Regions from separate parts of the Homo sapiens genome. Here region 2 is linked to region 1. Evidence: promoter capture Hi-C in 16 types of primary human blood cells and fetal thymus (Javierre and others, 2016). All regions are on one chromosome and are shown on one strand. The core of a region is centred on a gene start or on the middle of the fragment in contact, and the rest is flanking DNA. Distances in the headings are between cores, read along the strand shown. Region 1 holds the start of HTRA3 (HtrA serine peptidase 3). Region 2 overlaps ACOX3 (acyl-CoA oxidase 3, pristanoyl).

Evidence for each region. Contacts are between HindIII fragments. The CHiCAGO score rates a contact against its expected background, and 5 or more counts as called.
Region 2: a contact is called between a fragment that was not itself captured here and the fragment with the promoter of HTRA3 in region 1, in 6 of 17 cell types (endothelial precursors, M0 macrophages, M1 macrophages and 3 more). The highest score is 12.6, in endothelial precursors.

The regions. Positions count from the first base shown.
Region 1 is chr4:8,268,175-8,271,646 of GRCh38, reverse strand. It overlaps HTRA3 (HtrA serine peptidase 3), which reads right to left and starts at 1,893. Exons shown (of 9, transcript NM_053044.5): 1 at 1,294-1,893. The coding sequence starts at 1,678. LOC105374373 (a long non-coding RNA gene) reads left to right here and starts at 1,466. Exons shown (of 2, transcript XR_001741572.2): 1 at 1,466-1,540; 2 at 2,251-3,041. The HindIII fragment of the contact is 2,501 bases long and covers 1,264-3,472 here.
Region 2 is chr4:8,384,122-8,387,593 of GRCh38, reverse strand. All of the region lies in intron 13 of ACOX3 (acyl-CoA oxidase 3, pristanoyl), which reads left to right. Among named protein-coding and RNA genes, the nearest start is that of ACOX3, 55 kb to the left of the region's middle. The HindIII fragment of the contact is 380 bases long and covers 1,329-1,708 here.

The DNA.
Region 1 (3,472 bases), core at 644-3,143:
GGCACCTTGGTCTTGAACTTTCCAGCCTCCAGAGCTGCGAGAAATACATCTCTGTCCTGTATAAACTGCCCAGTCTCAGGCGTTGTACCAGCACAAGGTGGACTGGGACTCCCCGCCAAACCCTGCGGTGGCTCTTCCACATAATCCTAGCTAATCTCGAATGATGCTTCCCACACGGGGCTCCCAGGAACCCCAGCGTGCTGGGAGGAGGTCACGTGTTCTGCCAGAAAAGAAGAGCTCTCTGTTGAAATTCTCTGGGGAAGCCCTGGGTTTCATCAATTGAGGACACTGCAGGTTTTCTCAGAACCTCTGATAGATTGAGCCTGTGAGTCTCCACTACAGGAATAGAGCGCTCAGTTCCCCAACCTTTTTACACCATGAAAACACTTGGAATTGTGTTCAGCGGACCGCAGAAAAAATGAGGAAGCCCTCTGCAGGCTTCCCAGGAGCCCCGGCAGTTGGTGCTCCCCATGGTGCTCCTGAGGCTCCACGGAGCCTGTTCTGGCAGCTACTGCATCTCTCCCTGCCACCTGCAAGCTGATGGCACGCAGGACCCTGACTCCTATCCATGAACCTGGGGCCCGTCGCCTGTCTTCAGTGAACCCCTGTCCGGCCACAGCAGAGTCTGCTTTCCTAAGAGGCACCCCAAACAGGGAAAAAGGTACAGCAGGTTTTCCAGCATTTTCCTCCACGTACAGAGTCAACCTGCACGGTGAGATGCAACCTAGAGCCGACTGCCTCAAGGGAGGCTGTTCTAGGGTCTGACCCCGACATTCTCTCCCCCAAGCAGCCTCTCCCTGGGGCGCCCTAAGCAGTTCAGGGACCTGCACCCTGACCCTTCCCACACAGTCCTGTGGAGACATGCACTTAACCACAGTCTCCAGGAAAGAAGGCATCACCCAAGAGGGCACCCCGGCTGGAGAGTTAGGGCAGGAAAGAGTGCCCTTCACTCAATACCCGGACAGAGCAGGGGTCCAAGGATCAAGGGAATGGGCACGAGACATCAGTTCTGAAGAGACCAGAGCTGGAAACAGTCCTAGATGAGGCCCCTCGGGTGGCCAGGAGACCACCGGGTTTCCCTTTTGACTCTAATTCTGTGACCTTGGGGACAGCGGTTTACCTTTCCGGGCCTCAGTTTCTTCATCTGAAAGACCAGAGGGCTGGTGGGATGATTTCTGAAGGGCCACCCGGTGGTGCCCAGGGAAGGGCGACCTCGAGCTCGGCCCTAACTCCCGGCCTTAGTTTCCCCAAGAGAAAGAAGCTTCACTTCCTCCCTGGCCCCCGAGCGCTTACCCAACGGGCAGGCGCCCTTCTGCAGCTGGCGCACGGGCGTCCCGGAGAGCTGCAGCGCGCGGCGGCTGGCCGCCTGCAGCGCGCACACGTTGGCATAGGTGTGCCCGTCGGTGCCACACACGGCGTGCGACCAGCGGCAGCGGCATAGGCCGCGCACGCACTCCAGGCTCTCGCCGCAAGGCGAGTCCAGAGGGCCGCCACAGGGCTCGCCCTCGCTGGCGGCGCACACCAGGCAGCAGTTGCAGAGGTCGGGCACGTAGCCGCCGGGGCAGCGGGGGCTGGGACACCGCGACACGTCGCAGCGCGCGGGACACGGCGCCGCAGGGGGCTCCCGGGCCAGCGCCAGCGCGGCCAACGCGGCCAGGAGCAGCGCTCGCGCCTGCATGGCGGCAGGGCCGGCGGCGGGTGGCAGCGCGGGAGACCGGGCGGGGGCCGGCGGGGACAACGAGGCCGCTGCGGGGCCGGGCGCCGGGCGCCTACGGATGGGACTGGGGCGGACGCGCGGTCACATGCGCCGGTGGCTCAGGCTGGCGGGCGTCAGGGCGGCAGGGGCATCCCCAGGGCGCAGGGAGCGCAGGGACCAGCTCCCTCCAGCCTGACGGTCCGCGGGCGGCGGGTCCCGCGCCTTTAAAGGCGACCGCCCAGCCCGCCCTCGCTGGAAGGGGCGGCCCGGCCCCTCCGCCAGCCCCGCCCAGGCCCCGACAGGGCCCCGCCTGGCCTTCCGGGCCTGGACCCACCCGGCAGGCCTTGGGACTCTGGTCGGCCTGGTCGAGAAAACCCGAGGCTACAGACACGCAGGGGTCCTTTCTGGTGGGGACCCCCGGGCCCAGCCTATCCCAGAAACGTTGGGGGATGCGTTCTCCCCGCTCTGGAGGGGTCTGTCCGTGTCCAGTCTCCTCTGTGCCTCAGTTTCCTCCTCCAGGAAAGGGGAATTGACAGCATTTCTCAACCTCATAGGGTCGTTGGAAGAACCACAGAGGCCATGGCTGAGCAGTGTTCCCGAGTCCTCGCTGTCCACGGAACCGGAAGCTGTTTCCATTCTCATCATTGCTCCTGCATTTTCTGCAGGGCCCCTTCAGACCCAGGTCCCATCACGAGAGTCAGAATCTGGTGACAGTGCGTCAGCTGATGGGGTGAAGGCTGCGGAGTTGTGAGAGAAGGCAGAACCCCCCTTGGAGGTGAATGTCAAGCCTGAAGAGGAAGGATGGGAAGCGGGAGCTGGCCGTGACCTGGGCAGAGGCTCCCAAGCAAAAGCAGGTCGGGGCAGCAGGAGATAACGCCGCGCGCACAGCCTGGAGCTGCGGTCTTCACACTGTGTGTGTTCCTAGTACCCTGGGCTGCCTGGCGAAGCCTGGGTGTCCTTTTCAGAACGATGTCGTCAAGTAGATTTAAACGCATAAAACAAAGACCATGGGGTCACAAAGGGGAACAATTCTATCAAAACACAGTTATCAAAATACATGAAACAATTCATGACAGCGTGGCCTATGGGCTTCTTTATCAGCATGTTAATGGCAGGTTCTGGTCGGTCTGTCGTCTGATACCAGTGGACACTTCGCAGCAGCCCTGTGCAGAGGGCTGCCACTGGAGACACCTTCGGTGAGGGCGGTAACATGGGGATGTAAACACTGCTTCTGCTGGCCGTGGAGCCACAGGCCCTGCTGGCTGGGGTCAACTGCACCCCCAAAGGAATGAATGCTGGACTTCAGTTGGAGTTGTTGGGGTAAATAAAGACGTTTTTCCATCCAGGTTCACAGATACCCAAGTTAAGAATGGGGAGGGGTACCTCTGGTCCAGAGGAGGGAGGGGGAGCTGGAGGTTAAAGGGCCTCGGGGAATGGGAAGGTGGAGGGGCCTGATCCCTGAGGGCCCTGGGTCCTCAAAGGCCTGGGGAGGCGTTGAGTAGGGAGCGGCCCCATCAGACAAGATGTCTGGGGAGGATGAGGTGGGAGGAGGCGGGGCGCCAAGTGTGAGCCCCCATAGGACCCAGAGAGAGTGAAAGGTTGAAGGGTCCCAGGGGACGGGGAGAGAAGGGACCTGGAGCTTCTCCCCCTAAAAGGCCCTTTGACAAGGGGCAATAGCACCTGCGTTTCTGCCTCTACAAACCTCAAGTGCACTTTACTTTGAAGATGTGGAGAATTTCAGGCCATTTTTTGGAATGACCCAGAATGCTAGGAGTT
Region 2 (3,472 bases), core at 269-2,768, 120 kb before region 1:
ACAGAGAACAGCTCAAAGCCGCAGCAACGCCTCCATCTCGCCATCGCCTCACTCAGCAGTATTTAGTGAATGTCTTCACTTTGCCACCAAAGCACCTATTTGTGCAGAAGAGAAGGGCCGAGAGGGGTCCCGACGCCCTGTCCCGGCGGGCCAGGTAGAAACTGACTGCTCCCGTGACACCCGAGACGTGGAAGAGTAGCCCACCTTCCTGAGTGAGAGAGACGTCAGCTCCCGCCAGGCTGCCGGGGTTGATCCCGGTCCCTCCTCCTGCTGGCCGTGGAACCTACACCAAGTCCCTCAGCCTTCCTGCCTCGGTTTCCTCATCTGCAGCACGGGGACGGGGATGGTACCCCCTTCATAAGGTGTTTGTACCGTGGACTGAGTTCATGCACGTAAAGCACTTAGTGCAGCACTTGGCGCCACATCAGTGCTCAGCTCAGCAGCCACAGAGTTTGGACAGGAACCGCCCTCGAGGTGCCACACGTTCAACTGGGCAGATAGAGCGGGGACTTGGAGATGGAGGATGCTCTTGGCTTTGCATTCAGGAGACCAGAATGTGAGGCTTCCCTGGGGTTCTGGGAGGCCCCTGGATCCTCGGGAGGAGGGAGCACTGGCCTCCCTCATGCAGGGGACAGGCACACATGGAGGACGCGTTCCAGCCATCAGGACCGACGCCGTGGATGTGATAGCAGCCCCCGAGCGTGTGTCCTTGTCCGTCTCCAGCCCTACAGGCTACTTCCTTGTTCACACGGCAAAGAACAGGACAACAGCCGTGGCCGAAGCCGGTGTGGAGCCTGGGCCGGTCCGGCTTCCCAGCGCCTTCCCCTGCCCGCACCGTCAGCATCGTCATCAGGAAGCGTCTGCATCACTGCTTGCTTTCTCGTGGTCACTGCGCTGGGTTACAGCTTCTGACGGTAACTAACCGTGCAGATCTTAGCCTGCCTTTTTGGGTGCCAGTGGGAAACGGGGACACGTTTGATGACCTATTTCTGATGTTTGCAAGTCACTTTCTTTTTTTTTTTTTTTTTGAGACGGAGTCTCGCTCTGTCGCCCAGGCTGGAGTGCAGTGGTATGATCTCGGCTCACTGCAAGCTCCACCTCCCAGGTTCTCGCCATTCTCCTGCCTCAGCCTCCGGAGTAGCTGGGACTACAGGAGCCCACAACCACACCCGGCTAATTTTTTGTATTTTTAGTAGAGACGGAGTTTCACCGTGTTAGGCAGGATGGTCTCGATATCCTGACCTCGTGATCCGCCCACCTTGGCCTCCCGAAGTGCTGGGATCACAGGCATGAGCCACCACGCCCGGCCGCAAGTCACTTTCTAAGCTTCCCAAATGTTGCCACAGAAAGAACTAGAAAATGACCTAATCATTGTGGTAACTTCAACCCAACCAATACCTTTTTCCTAAAACCATCACTCCTTATATTAATAAAATCAAAACATAAATGGGACAGCCAGCTTCTCCATGTGCCCATCACGCTCTGCTCTTCCCTCCCCTTCCCCTGAGACTGAAAGCAAAAGCAATTTTACAGTCTCTCCATCATCAGGAAAGACACCAAAGTCATCTGCTTTTCTGCAACTGCTCTAATATTTACAAGATGCAACAAAGTGAAAACGTTTTCCGGAGTAACAAAGGCAAATGGCTTTCACTTGTTCAAAGTGGTATGGGAGAGAGACCGCCATTATCCCTCACGCCGCAGGGAAGCTTGTGGGTTCTGCCAGCCCCATCGTCTCAAGGGCATTTGGTCACAGATCCCAGGTCTCAGGGCTGACTGCAGCCTGCGTCATGTGGATCTTTGGTAAAAGCTGTTTAAGTGATGTGGGGCCCTCAGGCTCTGCAGGACTGGAGAGACACAGGCCCCTTCCGGGGTTGCGCTTGCCTGTGAGGAAGGGTGGAGGATTTGCCAAGCCAATGGCGGGTCCTTCAGGGGTTCGATTCTGACTTGGGTAGGGGAGGCTGGGTTTTCTGTTGAGTTCCTCTGATTTTTGCACAGGCATTTTTGCACTGAGCTGAGTGTCACAGCCCTGTGCCTTGGGGGCCTGTGCTGTTGCTTCCTGCAGTGGGCCCTGTTGTTTAGCTGGCTCGTATGCATTCATAGTAAGCAGTTGCAGTGTTCACTACTCGGACACGTGTGTATTTGTGGACTGCAAGGTCATGGGATGTGGGCCAGAGGTGACATAGGGTCATGTGTGAGCAGTGGGGTCACATGGGGTGAGTGGTGAGGTCACGTGGAGTGCACAGTGAGGTCATGTGAGGTGAGCAGTGAGGTCACAGGTGAGCGGTGGAGTCACGTGGGGGAGCGGTGAGGTCACGTGGAGTGCATGGTGAGGTCATGTGAGGTGGGCAGTGGGGTCATATGAGGTGAGCAGTGGGGTTCGTGGTGCAGACAGTGCTCCCAGAGGGTGGGAGCACAGGCTATTGGGTCAGCACTGCCCCCCGCTGTGACCTTGAGCTAGGCTTTAATCTCTCTGAGCCTGTTTTCCTTCTGCGAGACAGTGGGGAGGGAATGCGGTCACCCCATGCCACCTGGCAGGGGCCAGGCCATGGTGCCCTCGGTGGGGGGCTGCTGCGTGTGGGGGGCCACAGTCCTGAACACTTCCTTGGAAACAACAGATGCAGGTGAGGTCTGCCTTGGTGGGTCAGGGAATGTCTCCCACAAAACTGGCACCTGAGGGTGTCTCAGAGGGTCCGTGCGTTGTGCTTTTGGGGAGCACCGGCCATTCAGGAGCACCAGAGCGGCGGGCATGGTCAGACCCGGGCCTGTGATCTGGCTGAGGAGTTGGGGCCGCTGTCCAGGCCTTGCTTTCCAGGGCTTGCCTGGGTCAGAATCCGAGTTAGGAGTGCTCTGATGCTGACGCAGAGGGGACTGGACCCAGAGACGGGAGAGGAAACCGAGACCCGAAAGGCAGGCAGTGCATGCGAAGAGCTCACCATGGGGTCAAGGACAGAGCCCCAGCTGGGGAGGGGGCAGATCGAGGGGCAGTCATTGGGTGCACAGGGCGGCTGGGGGCACCTTCGAGAGTCCTTCTGGTGTGAGGCACATGGAAAGGCCGTGGTGACCCAGGATTCTGGGAGAGTCTTGAGGACAGAGGTTGTTGACGCTGGGTGTGTCCTCAGGCCGCCAGCAGCCGCATTCCGAGCAAGAGAATTCACTGCCCGTCAGTGCCCGTTTTCCTGCCTAGTTTGTTTCAGCGATACTTTTTCACTTCCACATTAACTCTGAAAATGACACACACAACACCCACCTTTCATTGTTTGCTTTCATGTGCTTTTTGGGGATCTTCTCCCCTGCACATGAACACATCAGACTGACATGATTTATTTTTTCACGAAAAACCAAGAACCAAAAGTAGAGTGTAAGGAAAAAACACAGTGCAAACATAACTCATTTCTCAAGCGTCCCTCTCACTTGAAGCCCACAGCACAGTCTAACTGGCCATCGACGTGAAGCCTCATGGATTAATTCTGGT